Regions from separate parts of the Homo sapiens genome. Here all the other regions are linked to region 1. Evidence: promoter capture Hi-C in 16 types of primary human blood cells and fetal thymus (Javierre and others, 2016). All regions are on one chromosome and are shown on one strand. The core of a region is centred on a gene start or on the middle of the fragment in contact, and the rest is flanking DNA. Distances in the headings are between cores, read along the strand shown. Region 1 holds the start of FAM20A (FAM20A golgi associated secretory pathway pseudokinase). Region 2 has its middle 6.1 kb from the start of PRO1804. Region 3 overlaps ABCA5 (ATP binding cassette subfamily A member 5).

Evidence for each region. Contacts are between HindIII fragments. The CHiCAGO score rates a contact against its expected background, and 5 or more counts as called.
Region 2: a fragment that was not itself captured here is called in contact with the fragment with the promoter of FAM20A in region 1 in 2 of 17 cell types (M0 macrophages and monocytes); the score reaches 7.6 in M0 macrophages.
Region 3: a fragment that was not itself captured here is called in contact with the fragment with the promoter of FAM20A in region 1 in 2 of 17 cell types (erythroblasts and monocytes); the score reaches 6.1 in erythroblasts.

The regions. Positions count from the first base shown.
Region 1 is chr17:68,597,780-68,602,618 of GRCh38, forward strand. FAM20A (FAM20A golgi associated secretory pathway pseudokinase) reads right to left here and starts at 3,588. Exons shown (of 11, transcript NM_017565.4): 1 at 2,484-3,588. The coding sequence starts at 2,887. The HindIII fragment of the contact is 2,926 bases long and covers 877-3,802 here.
Region 2 is chr17:69,238,715-69,243,495 of GRCh38, forward strand. It overlaps a transcript of ABCA10 not described here. Among named protein-coding and RNA genes, the nearest start is that of PRO1804, 6.1 kb to the left of the region's middle. The HindIII fragment of the contact is 527 bases long and covers 2,851-3,377 here.
Region 3 is chr17:69,263,717-69,268,414 of GRCh38, forward strand. It overlaps ABCA5 (ATP binding cassette subfamily A member 5), which reads right to left. Exons shown (of 39, transcript NM_172232.4): 23 at 4,227-4,340; 24 at 1,019-1,189. Among named protein-coding and RNA genes, the nearest start is that of PRO1804, 31 kb to the left of the region's middle. The HindIII fragment of the contact is 492 bases long and covers 1,181-1,672 here.

The DNA.
Region 1 (4,839 bases), core at 2,338-4,837:
CATTGTTTCTTCCTCTGCTGTCCATTCTATTTATTTGTCTGCTGCTAGGATCTAGGGGTGTCCTCGACCCTGCACATAATGGCAGGCCCCCTGTCTTCATCAGCACTGCTACATCCTCATATTTGGCAGGGAGCACTCTCATTTAAGGTAATGAGTGACTCCCTTTCACAATAGAACTCTGAGTGTGGCTCAAATTCACCCTGGCTAATGAATCTTCTGTATGGTTTTTTTTTTTTTTTTTTCTGAGGCAAGGTTTCACTGTCACCTAAGCTGGAGTGCAGTGGCACAGTCATGGCTCACTGCAGCCTCAACCTTCTGGGCTCAAGCAATCCTTCTGTCTCAGTCCCTCAAGTGACTAGGACTACAGGTATGTGTCACCACTGGCTATTTTTTTTGTTTGTTTTTTGAGACGACATCTTACTATGTTGCCCAAGCTCATCTTGAACTCCTGGGCTCAAGTGATCCTCCCTCTGCCTCTGCCTCCCAAAATGTTGCGATTACAGGTGTGAGCCACCCTGCCCGGCCTTGTGTTTCATTTTTAACCCTGATATAAGTAACAACACATCTGCTTATTAATATGTTCATGTTAACATTTACTATCCAGTTTGGGTGGAAGGAGAGTGTTCTCTGCCTCTGAGGTCCAGTTTTAACATTTATAAGTGCAGCGGGTCCTCCTGTTGTGGCCCACAAACCTTACTTGGGAAAATGTCACATTTGAGCAACCACACAAAACTACTCTGTGATCTCTGAATATAGTAAGGTCACCAGCCCCCACTTGATCTTCTGTTAAATGACCAAGATCATTTCTGGTCAGAAAGTATGTGTGTTTTTGCGAGTTTTTTTTGTCTTTGTTGACACATAATGGTGTAGAAATCAAGCTTAAAACTGATTGTAGAACAGTTTGGTGAGAAAGATTTTTGCTTTTCTGCCATAATATTCCCCTGGACTTTGCTTCGGGTCCAAAGTAACACCGGGAAGTTTAAGACCACAGAAATGTGACTAAATGAATGCTGATCACATTTACAAAAGCAAGTGACTTTGTCCAAAGTCTCTCATTCTCAGATCCATAGTAGACATATAGATACTTTTTCTAAGGGCAAAATTTCCTGGTTCACTAAGCCAGACTTCCATGTTATTGACGAAATAAAGATAATATTGAAAATGACAGTGTCTGAGAAGCAATCTCAAACTGCCTTTTATTACTGCACACAGTTAACGTGGAATTGAGAATCACTTTCTTTCTAACATAAAATGTGAGCCGTAGAGTTACTACTGAAATTCACCACAGTGATTCAGCCAACAACTCAACTTATTCCTTTGCAAAAATTTCTGAAGGTTTTTTTTTCTCCCTTCAATCTCAGCATTACAAAATAATGAGCAAACAGTTAAATTGGCCCAGCTCTGAGTTTCAAGAGAGATTTATGGTCTGCTCATCCTCTGGAGGGACCATAAAACCACCGATGACATCTTACTTTGAAATCTCTTGTATTAAGTAAAGAGATGGGTGTGGTGCGATAGTGAACTCTGCATGTGAGTGGTATTTAGACAAGTTCTGTACTTCAAAACAGAGTCCTTAACTCATACGAAGGCTTCCTGCCACTAGCAAGGGATCTCAGTAATGAGCGTGCTGCCTTCCCTAACACCCCCATCCTTTTCCAGAAAGATTCTTAATTTTATCCTAAATATATTTGATATTTTTTCCTCTGTATTTTGCTTTGGGTTTAAAAAATTCCCTGAAAGATTTTTTTCTCGTCTGTGGAAGCATCAAGCCGCAGATCCAAGTCAGTCCAAATCACCAGGATCATACAAGACGATAAAAGTGCCTTCAAGTTCTAATACTTGCTGGATGGGCCCAAGCCGCGTTTTAAATGTGAACAATGGGGTGGCTGCGGCAGAGAACTGACCATTTACTTCCTGCCTCAGATGACCCCCTTGTGATCTCTGAAACTGGGCAGAGGAATAAGGAAAGGGAAAGAACTGGGTTTTGGGGAGAAACATGCTTTCTGGAAGGCGCCCAGGTTTACCCAAAGAGCACAGTTAAGTGCTGAATTTCAACTAGCTCTGGAGTCACCCTGTTTGGGGCCTCATTCTGGAAACCCGAAGTCCAGCGGCAGCTTTCCTCCACATCAGGACAGAGAGTGGGGTTTGGGAGCGGACGAGGGAGCGGGAGTGGACGAGGGAGCAGGAGTGGGGCTCAACGACGACCCAGGCGCTCAAGGGGAAGGGGCTGAGAGCGTTTCTTCGCTGTGCGGCTGCAATAGAAACTTTTTCCTCGTACTATCTGACTCCGGGACTGGACTGTGAGGTCTGCAACAGCTGGTGGGGTTCGGGTGGGGAACACACTCTAAGCCCAGCGCCAGGGCTGGAGCCGTGGGTGGAGCCGCTGCAGCCCTGGGCCGGGGGCGTCAGGAAACTCGAGACTGGGGCGCGGGGAGGCCCCGGCCAGAGCGCCCGCTCTCCCGCGTCCCGGGCGGGGTCCTCACCTGTTCCAGCGGGCCACCTTCCTCCGGTAATACCGCAGCGCCTCCTGGCTGGCCAGGAGCGAGTCCTCGGCTCCCAGGAGAGGCGGCTCCTCCGGGACGTTGTACAGCGGGTGGGCGAAGAGGGCCTGCAACTTGGAGCTCGACCCGCTGTGGCTGCCGCCAGCCGGTTCAGTCCGGGGCTCGGTTCGGGAAAAGTTGTGCACGATCGTGCCGGGGTCCGAGGCAGCTGCGGCCGAGTCCCGCGCCAGGGAGGAGGCGCGGCCGGTGCACGGGCACCCCCGCGGGCGCTCCCGAGGCCGCAGCTGGCGCTGTACTTGGGGCCAGAGGTGGAAGTAGAGGTCGGCGGAGAGCAGCGCGCCCAGCAGCAGCAGAGTCAGTAGGCGGTCCCGGCGCAGCCCCGGCATGGCGTGCTGGCCAAGGGGGACGCCGGGGGCAGGCCGGCTGTCTCCGGGGTCCCGGGAGGGGTCGCGGGGTGCGGGCAGAAGAGGTGCCTGGAGTCCCGCGGGTGGGCCGGGGTCAGTGAGACCGGAATGCTCCCCGCGCGGGCTAGTCCCCTGTGGAGGGGTGTCGCTCCTCAACTTGGGGACCAGGTGCACGGAGCACCGGGGCTCTCGGAGTCAGCGGGCGTCGCTTCTCCGCGCCGAGTGAGCCGAGGGAATGGGGTTCCCGGGGTGCCCGCTTCTTGCGCCTTTTCTCCCGTGCGCCCGCCCGCCCGGACGCTCGCGGCAGGTGAAGGGCCCCGGGGCGCCGGCGCCGGCTGCCACCGCGGGCGGACGGGCGACGGGGCGGGGGGCGACCGCGGAGGGCGGACGGAGGCCGCCGGCTGCAAAGCCCGGGGCGTCTCTCCTGAGGATGCTGTCGCTCGGCGGCGGCTGCTAGTGCTCCCGCGACTCCTCCTGCGGGCGGCGGAGACGCCAGTGCCGGCGGCTGGCACGGGCGGCGCGAGTGGGGAGTTGGCGAAGCAGGAGCGGCTCCGGGGAGCTTGTCTGTGCGCCTGGACTCCTAGAGGCAGAGGTAGCGCGGGGCCTCCCCGAGCCTGGCCTGGCGCCGGCACCCCCACCCACTCTCCGCTGGCACCTGCCTCTGGCGCAGCTGACGGCCAACTCCCGATCCGAAGCCGGCGCTGCCCTTGCACCTTGTCACCCACCCACTGCCTGCGCCCTCCCCCTCGCTCGGGCCTCCCACTTTCCCTGCCCAGGTCTCAATCCAGTCACTTTAAGGGACTCACGCGAGGGGTCCGAAGCCTCTTTTTACCATTTCTATTATTTTTAGGGAAAAAAAAACCACCACAAGCCCCCTAAAACCCTTTTTTTCCTGTAAGCTTTGCCAAATGAGTGTGTGGGGGGGGGTGGGGGGAGGCGGGGGTGGCAGTGTTGGTATCTGTTCTTTCTTTGTGTTCCCTTCCACCTCCGCCCCCCTGCAGAGCGCAGGGCACATCAAGATTCATAACAACTACCTACCACATGCCTGGCACATAGTAGGTGCTCAGGAAACACGCTCTTGGTGAAGGAAAGAGCTTGACCTTTAAAAGTAAGGTATCAGTTTTACCTAGAATCTTGCTGATTTCCTGTTTGGAAGGAGTTTGATTCCAACTCTGCCTGTACTTTAAAAAGAGGAAATGTTTCTTGCACTCAGGGAGGGAGGGGCCCTGATGACCCCACTCCGAACTTTTGAGTTTAGCTTGGTGTGAAAGTAGTCCACCCAAATGAATCACTGGAGGACACATTTAGGCTTTCTCCAATATTCTGTGAGGTAATGTACCCTCCCCACACCCAGTTTTCCTTTTGAAGAAGAGGGAGGGAGTCCTGAACTCCTGGCTCCTCTATTTAATGACCCCATAGTATAGTAAAGTGAAGTCTGATTGGAGAGGCGGCCCCACCCTGCTGAATTTCAGGAAATCCACCAGAAGCTGCTTGCCCAGGCAGCAAAGCTTCCCATGTAAGTTAGTTCTACTCTTTAACCCCCTCCCTTCCCTTGCTGGAATTGAGAACCCTCAGACATACTTTGACTTGTGGGTTCAGACCAGAGTTCTTTTCCCCGTGGTTCAGTGTAAGATTTCTTCGGGACTTTGCAGTCTCCTCAAATGTAAATGAAGATAATGATGGAACCTACCTCCTAAGGTTATTATGAGACTTAAATGAATTGAAGTACAATTATGTGTCACGTCTGAGAAATGCATCCTTAGGCAATTTTCCTGTGTGTGTGAACATCAGGGTGTACTTACACAAACCTAGATGGTTCAGCCTACTACACACGGAGGCTACATGGCATAGCCTGTTGATCCTAGGTACAAACCTGTACAGCATGCGACTACTGAATGCTGTAGGGAGTTGTAACACAGTGGTGAGTACTTGTG
Region 2 (4,781 bases), core at 1,864-4,363, 640 kb after region 1:
TCTGAGGAAACCAATACCATATATCATTTGCAGGGTCCCTCCTCCTAGGGACCCAACTTCTCTTTCAATTGGTTGTGGGTACAAAAACTGGCTCAGATCCAGAAACCAGAGAGGACTCATGACCTTCTGTTGAGGCAATTGTCTTCAACCTTCTGATCACCCATCATTGATTTAATTGTAAAGAATGAGTACTCCATTGATGATCCATTCATTTGGCCCCTACAGATGCAATGTTCTATTAAATATCTCCATAACTGTGGATCACTGTCCCCATCCCCCACAGCCTAGCTGTTGTCAAAGATAACATGGCCTAAAAACTAAAGCAGTGAAAACAAATTTTATTTGGTAACTACTGACAGTAGGGGAAAGAGCTGAGCTGCCTTCTGATCTGTACAGAGGTGATTGGGGTGTTTAAAAAGGAGAGTGGGAGTAGGGAGGTTGTAGGGGCTCAGCAGAGTCAGAGAAATAGAAAAGTACAAAGGGTTGGTCAGTGTGAATGTGATTAGGTCAGCTGTGTTTCTTAGCTGGCAATTATCAGTTAGGATTCTATCCTCTCACAGAGACTGGAAGACAGAGGCCTTATCCTTCTTGATAACTATTTTTAAAAAGAATGGTTCCCAGGTCGTTGGAGAAAGAAACATGTGAGCTGCAAAAGATACATATTTATAATTGTAAGCTCCTTTTAGTAAATAAATGCTCTAAGAAATCAGATCAGGGGCCTGTTATCATGTGTTGGCTACAACAAAAAGTAGATTTTTCTGGTAGTATTGAGCTTTCTCAGACTGTTATTTAAATGGGGGTAGGGACCTGCGATCACCCTACAGACACTGCCTTATGCTGCTAGAGGCCGTGCTAAAATTTGGTCAAGTCTCTCAGTGTCAGGCTTTCGACAGAGTTGTTCTGTGTTGAGAGCTCTGCAGTTCTTTTTACAGTAATTGTGTCCCCATGGTTTCTTAGGTTTCTAATTGTTGAGTGCTGCCACCCGGCCTCTATTAGTCAGGATTTTATCACCCCCATTGCTCTCTGTGAGCCCAGTGTTATCATGGTATCACTTACCATCAGCTCACAGGACAGCCACCTCTAGCTGTATAGTGACGTTGGCGTGCCCTTCAATAGTACCTTCCTTGTTCGTTTGAATTTAGTCATCTACTGTGTTTTCCAAACTCATATAGTACACCCACGCAGGATGCCTGGTTTTCTGGGTGTTTTCACCCTTTTCTTGCATCATGTACCATGGCTTTTCAATATTTATACATGACATTGGGTGGGCAATTGCTTTTTCCATGCAGGAAGCATCTTAACAGTGTGTTCTTGCTAAGAACCATCTCTTGGGATTCTTGCCAGGACATTAAAAATCCTTTAGGCCAGAAGAGTACTCTGAATAAACTCTTATCCAACTTTATGTTCTGCATTGTTTGATCATGCACCCTTAAAATCCAGTCCCATGCACATTCTCCTAGCTCTTATGGGTAGATGTGGCTAGCTCCTGCAGCTCTTGTGTGATACAGTACATTTCTTCCCTCAGAAATACCAGCACAACTTTCGCCAAGTTACTTTATGTCTTAATCCTTGTTATTGGCCATTAGGAAGGAAGTTAGGAGCAGATCCTGGAATGGGGCTTGTATTAGTTTGCTAAGGCTGCCCTAGGGAGTTGAAAAGTGTGACCCGTTTGATGGTAGCACTCTCAGAGGCAGGAGAAATAAGTTCTTTATTTCTGAAGGGGAATATAGGCAGTTCATTTCAGCATCCACAGGAGCCTGAACAATGGGCCATTCTATGGTCCCAGAATAGAGGAAATGGAGGGTTTGGAGTGGCTAACCTAGTTTCCAAACTAAAGCACTCTTCGGTTGGTACAGTGAAATGCAATTTCTTTAGTAAATAGTACCATGTGGTGAGATTTTGGTGGTCTGTCTTCTGACTGTGATATTAACTTGTTTCTGTAGAACTCTTCAGCTGCCTGACTTCTCTACATCATCAAGCCTCCAAGGGATGGGCCCCTTCCAAAGTTGTCTTCCTCTTTCCCAGCAGTGCTTTCCCAAGAAATCAATCACAAACTCAATTTCACTTTACAATTTCCTTCTTTTCAGTTCTTCAGTAGCTAAGATTTGTGCCACTGGGTCTCAAATCTGTTCTCAGAATTTCCTTACTCTGGGTAAGACCCCTTGCCTTCTGGCAGTGTGCTTCAGTTAACATTACCTATGTTTCACTACTGCTAGGGCCTTGCTGTACCATCAATACCCCCTGACTCTCAGCTTGTGAATGGGTTCCAAAACTAACACTGCTCCCAGTATTTATTTCCTTTGCTCACTGGACATCTCCACTTGGATGTCTAATGAGCATCTCAAACTTAACAAATACAAAACTGATCTTTCCCTCAAATCCTCAAACCTAAACTTCCACGGTCTTCTTCATCCACTTGATGATACTAGTAGAAGATACGTTCAGAGACATAATTGCTGATAATTCTACTCTTCCAGAGGCTCAGACAAAACAAAAAACAAAAAGCCCTTGTGTCATTGACTCCCTTTCTCCCATACTCCATGTACTATAATCTCCACCTTCTCAATATTCAGAATTAGACCACTTCTTATTCACCTTCCTGATTCAACTCACCATCTCTTGCCTCATCAAATGCAATGGCCTCCTAACAGGTCTCTTGTGCTCTGTCCCCTCATATCTGATTATTTTCAACACAGCAGCTAAACTGTTCCTTTCAAATATGCCTAATGTTGCCACACCTCTACTCAAAACCCTCCAATGACTTCTGATCTCATTGAATGTCAATAAAATGTCCATAAGGGCCCTTTCGATCCCATCTTCCACTAGTGTCCCCCTTAATCAGTTAGCTAAAGCTTCACTGGTTCTGTTTCTCAAATATGCCACTCACACCTTGCCTCAGGGCCTTTGTACTTGCAGTACCAACTCACCTTCTCAGTGTAGTCTTGCCTACATGAGATCAGTGTGCTTTCATCTGCAGCACCAAGAGTCCTTATCTCCCTCCCCATCATCTAACATACTATGTATTTTTTTAAAGTAGGTAATTTGTCTTACTATAATAAAAGCTCAGTGAGGGCAGAGACTTTTGTCTATTGTTTCAATAATGTATATGCCTAGTGCTTAGAAAAGTGCTTGATTCTTAACTGACATACAATAAAATATTTGTGAATACTGAATAATAATGAAAAGCAGTCTTTCTTTGAAACTTAAAGACTTTAGGCACCATCATAGACGGCTCTAAAAACTATCTAGTGTCTTAATTTGGTGAAGGTAAATTCAAAGGATGCCTACTTACTAAAGAATTAGAAGATACAGATAAGGCCTTTTAAAATTAGCAGATATGATAACACTAGAAGCTGAGATTTCTTACCAATTTGTAAAGCTTGATGTATAATTTTAATCTCATTCTATCACAAACTTGATTTCATGTACACTGATGTATGAGAATTTAAATGTAGTCAACAGAAAACCAATATCAACTACATCATAATCACATAACAATATCAATAGTATAATTTGGCCAAAGAAATTACTAGCCAATACATATACATCACAACTAGCACTCAACATCTTTTCCTACAACTATATGACAAAGATATGTTAATAAATAAAAATTAGATAAGGTGAACCAAAACAATAATGGTATTATTCTGTCAGTAAAATGACTATAGTATTATGGTTAATTAGACATATAAGAATTACAAAACAGAAAGGAAAGTAAAATTGCAACCCAGGTGAGGAATTCATTTTCTTTCTTTCTGTTTTTTTCTTGAGACAGAGTCTCGCTCTGCCGCCCAGGCTGGAGTGCAGTGGCGCGATCTTGGCTCACTGCAACCTCTGCCTCCTGGGTTCAAGCAATCCTCCTGCCTCAGCCTCCCAACTAACTGGGATTACAGGCACGTGCCACCACACCCAGCTAATTTTATATTTTTAGTAGAGACAGGGTTTCACCATGTTGGCCAGACTGGTCTCGAACTACTGACCCTCAGCCTCCCAAAGTGCTGGGATTACAGGTGTGGGCCACTGCACCCGGTCTGAGGAATTCATTTTCATTAATTAAGCACGTTATACTATAGTCACAACACAGAAGCTGGAAAGTCCTATTATCATGAATTTGGATGAAACGTAATAATAAAACCTAAAAAACATCTTGTTTTAGCGGAAAATACTGGGTTGCAAAAACCTGAAACTTAGATTGGGTTAACTCACAACTTAAAGCTCAAAAATCAAAGTTTGAACATAAAAGAAGGGCCACCTCAACAGTTGCCAGTTTAGTCTTAGAAGGCAGATCCAGGTTCTATGCTTATATCATTATTTAGTTTAGTTGATAGATACCCCTTGATCAGTCCCAATTGTTAACTGAGAAACCTAATTAGCATCCATCTCTTGGTCTCAAATTATCAAAGGGATAAATTTTGATAGTGTGAGATAGCTCTTTTATTGGCAAATGTGTAACTCTGCAAAGGTATATATGTAGACACGGTGAAAAAATTACTTCTGATTAGTGTACTGATACTGTATTTATTTGAGAATCTTGCACACACATCACGTAACAACAGGGATATGTTCTGGGAAATGCATCATTAGGCAATTTTGTCACTGTGCTAAGGCAATAGCCTATTACACATCTAGGCTATATGATACAGCCTGTTGGTCCTAGGCTACAAACCTGGACAGCATGCTACTATACTTAATACTGTAGGCAACTGTAACACAATAGTAAATATTTGTGTACATAGAAAAGGTACAAGAAAAATACAGTATTATATTTTATCATCTTACTA
Region 3 (4,698 bases), core at 177-2,676, 660 kb after region 1:
TAAAAAGTCTCTCTCTGTTGCCCAGGCTTGAGTGCAGTAGCACGATCTTGGCTCAACACAACCTCTACCTCCCCGGTTCAAGCGATTCTCCTGCCTCAGCCTCCTGAGTAGCTGGGACTACAGGCGCATGCCACCACGTCCAGCTATTTTTTTGTATTTCTAGTAGAGATGGTGTTTCACTATGTTGACCAGGATGGTCTTGATCTCTTGACCTCGTGATCCACCCGTCTCGGTCTCCCAGAGTGCTGGGATTATAGGCATGAGCCCCCGCGCCCAGCTTATGTAGGATTCCTTTAGCCATCTGGGTACTTTTGGGGTTCCATATGAATTTTAGAATAGCTTTTTAAAATTCTGTGATGAATAATGTTGGTAGTTTGATAGGAATAGTGTTGAATCTGTAGATTGCTTTGGGCAGTATGGCCACTTTAATATATTGAGTCTTCTAATCCATGAGCATGAAATTTTTTTCCATTTGCTTGTATCATCTCTGAATTCCTTCACCAATGTTTTGTAGTTCTCCCTGTAGAGATCTTTCATCTCCTCTGTTAGATGTATTCCTAGGTATTTTAATTTTTTGTGGCTATTGTAAATGGAGTTGTGTTCTTCATCTGGCTCGCAGCCTGCCCATTATTGAGATAGAGAAATGTTAAGCTATATTTTAAACTATGGAATAAAAGAGCTTATCCTTTGTGAAATTATTTTCAGGCATAAGAAAAACGAAGGAAGGCATTTTAAGGAAGGAATATATTAAAACGTTCCTGATTACACCCAAGTAGGTGGTCTACATGAAAGATCACTTTAGTTTCAAGAAATTATTTTAAAATGGTGGTAAGTTATTGTTTTTAAAAGTCACTTATCATATAAAATGATTACATGTATTAAATACCAGACACACTTGCTCTATTTTCTTTAACAAATTAATAACCAAATTATGCAATAAGTCAACTGTCATGTTTATAACAGATTTTAAATAACATTCTATCTATAAATAGCATGAGTACAACTAACGTTAACTTACCACAGCAAGGAACTTTACAGTATAAAAATATAATCCATAATGAAATGCCAATAAGCTTCCTAGCATCAAAATAAGAATGATAAAAAATAAGGGGATATCAACAACAGCTTGTCCAATCCAATATGCAGATGGCAAAAGACCTGAAAGTTTAAGTTGAGTATAAGCTTTGATCTAAAAAAAATGAAAAACAATTTATTATAATTTTAGACACTTTAGAAACACACAAATAAATTAGTAAATTATTGTAGATCTCTTAATTTTACATCAGCAAAACCAAAAAGGTTACATTCCAGGCTTATAGGTAATAAAAGTCCCCCTCACACTAAATACAAATTCCATTTAGCCTTTAATTTGGCTCATTATTTCTGAGATGTAACAATTTCAACAAAATTTTTAAGAATCAGAATACAGTAGTGCTGCCAAGAAACTGAGATTAAAATAAAGCAAAAGGTGTCATGGCGGTTGGGGTTACAGCTATACAAATAATAAATAGCCAAAACATTACTACTTTTGAAATACTGTGGAAACAGATGGGAAGACATGTTTACACAGAAAAAGAATTCTCAGTTTTAAAAATGAACCTTTCATAAATAAAAACACTAATAAATTGCCAAGTATCCTTTGGATTTACATAAGGCTTTCAGCTTAAGTGAAAGCTTTTGAAATGTTCAAAGCCTTTTGTGTACACTGGTATAGCATATAAATCTAAGGTGTTATTTACGTCACAAGTTTGTTAATGGTAAACTCAAATGATCATAGTTTTCCTATCTCATGTTCTCATTTAATTTGAAATTTCTAAAATATTTCATAAATCCAAATACCTAACAATTTTATTTAGTTGATTTTTGTCATCTATAAAAATATCTACTCCTAATAACTGAAGGTATTATATGAAAGAGCTGTCCACAGAGATAAAGGAAGCATGAAATATAAAGATTAGTTAAGAAGAGGAGAAATGAACAAAATTGGCAAGTTTTCTGTTCAATGAATTATGAGAACATGAGACACATGTAAATTCTAATACAAGAATAAAAACATAAGCTAAGGCAAATGCAATTATTTTGGATAATTCAAACTTTTGTCATTCACACACTGCTGGTAGGGATAACATAAAATGGAACACTCATCTTGGAAAATAATTTGGCAATTTCTTATAAAATTAACATGTATAATTCAGCAATTGCACTCTTGGGCATTTATCTCAGAGAAATGAAAATGATGTTTACACAAAACCTGTATGCAAATGTCCACAGCAACTTTACAAAAGCCAAAAACGGAAAACAATCCAAATGTTCTTCAACAGGCAAATGGTTAGAGAAAGTGTGATGTATCCATACCATGGAATATTACTCAGCAATGAAAAGGAATGGATTATTGATAAATACAAATAGGATGAACTTCAAAAAAAATGCTATTTGAAAAAAGCCAATCCCAAAAGAAAACTTATTGTGATGCCATTTTACATTTTTGAACTATCAAAATTACAGAAATAGAGAACAGAGTAGTGGTTGCCACAGGTCAGAGAGGCTAGGAAAGAGCAAAAAATGGGAATCTTTTTGGTGACAGAAATGTTCTGTATCTTGACTGTGTCAATGCCAATACCCTGTTACATTGTACTATAATTTTACGAGATGTTATTATTGGGACAAAATGTAAAGAGTACACAGGATCTCTCTGTCATTTCTAACAAACAAACATGAATATACAACTATCTCAAAATAGAAACTTTAATTAAAAATAAGTTAGTGGGTGCAGTGCACCAGCATGGCACATGTATACATATGTAACTAACCTGCACAATGTGCACATGTACCCTAAAACTTAAAGTATAATAAAAATATATATATATATAAATAAAAAAATTAAAAAATAAATAAATAAAAATAAAAAATTTATATTGGAAAAAAAATGTTTCAGTTGAAACAAGAAAGAAAATGCAAATGTCCAGTAAATTTTATTATTGTGCAGTGGGTTATGGATTTCTATATTCCTTATACTTTTCTATAATTTATACATTACTACAATGAGTATATTTAACAAAAATTGAATATTATTTTAAAAATAGAGATATGTGTTACTTTTATAGTAAACAAATAACAAAATTTTTATTAGAATGTATTTATTTATTTTATTTATTTATTTATTTATTTATTTTTGAGATGGAGTTTTTGCTCTTGTTGCCCAGGCTGGAGTGCAATGGCATGATCTCGGCTCACTGCAATCTCCGCCTCTCGGGTTCAAGTGATTCTCCTGCCTCACCCTCCTGAGTAGCTGGGATTACAGGCATGCACCACCACGCCCTAATTTTTTTTCTATTTTTAGTAGAGACGGGGTTTCTCCATGTTGGTCAGGCTAGTCTCGAACTCCCAACCTCAGGTGATCCGCCCACCTCGGCCTCCCAAAGTGCTGGGATTACAGGCGTGGTCCACCACGCCTGGCCTACAATTTATTTTTTTAGAATTTATTAAAATAATGAGCTCATTATTCATCACAGTCTGTAAATTAATTTAGACAAATTTGTTTTTACTGAATTAAGATCATCCATGAAGAAGATCAGAATTTTTATTAGAGCAGTAAGATATAATCTCAGCAGAGTGAAAAAGTGGGAGGCTTTGAACAACCAAAGACTGTACAAGATCGCTATATGCCTGAAGGAAAACAAAAGGGAAAGGCGTAAAAAGAAAGTGAAAGAATACCAAAGAACCTCTGTATACTTAGCAATTTCTCCAAGGCCCTAATGATGACAATCACTTTCATCTATTTTTTTTCCATTAATAAGAATTTAGCACCTTGACTACTTAATACCTCTGTTAAAGGATAAAAGGGACGGGCATGTTAGTTTGCCAGTTAAGAACATAAAGATCACAGTCACTTCCCAAATCCACAATTTAAACAAGTTGAGTCAACCTGAGCAAGTCATATGAACAATCCCATCTTTGATTTCCTGATCTATAAGAAATCAGTAACAAAAAACTTACCTCACAATGTTGTGAGAATTAGAGAATATAATTTTTAAAGCATGTAGCAAGTCTCAAATAATAAATATTAATTATCACTTATTACAATAAGAAACTATAATAAATGTATTTATATTCCATTTACTTATTTCTGAAATAACAATTATACTAAGCCTTGCAATCAAGCAAATAGGTTATTTTTATATGACACTTCTTATTAGCAAATTATATATTTTTAACTGAGTCATTACCTTATGATTCTCTGCATTTTCCATGGCAAAGTAAGGTGGCATTGCAGTAACAATGATTCCAAGCAAAGCTGCTTGAAAATACAGCTCAATTTTAAAAACTATATCAGTAATTTCCTGAAAGACAACCACAGAGTAACAAATGGAACTGAGAATCATTTTATATCTTAAGATATATCTTAGGATATATCTTATATCAAAAAAAAATCAAAACCTCAGAAAGAATGTATTAGAATATCTAACCCAGGCATAGTCTACATGAAAGAATGAGTGGCAGATGTATTAACAGGTGGTTGTGGACAATATTACCAACTCTGCCACTTATTAATAACTATCTGATCCTAAGCAAATCATTTTACTTTCATTTTCCTGTCTACAACACAGAATAATCAGGCATATAAATTACGCTTCACAATTTCATAAAAATGAATGATGTATTTGAAAAGCAGTTAGTATGTCCACCATAGTGGTCCTA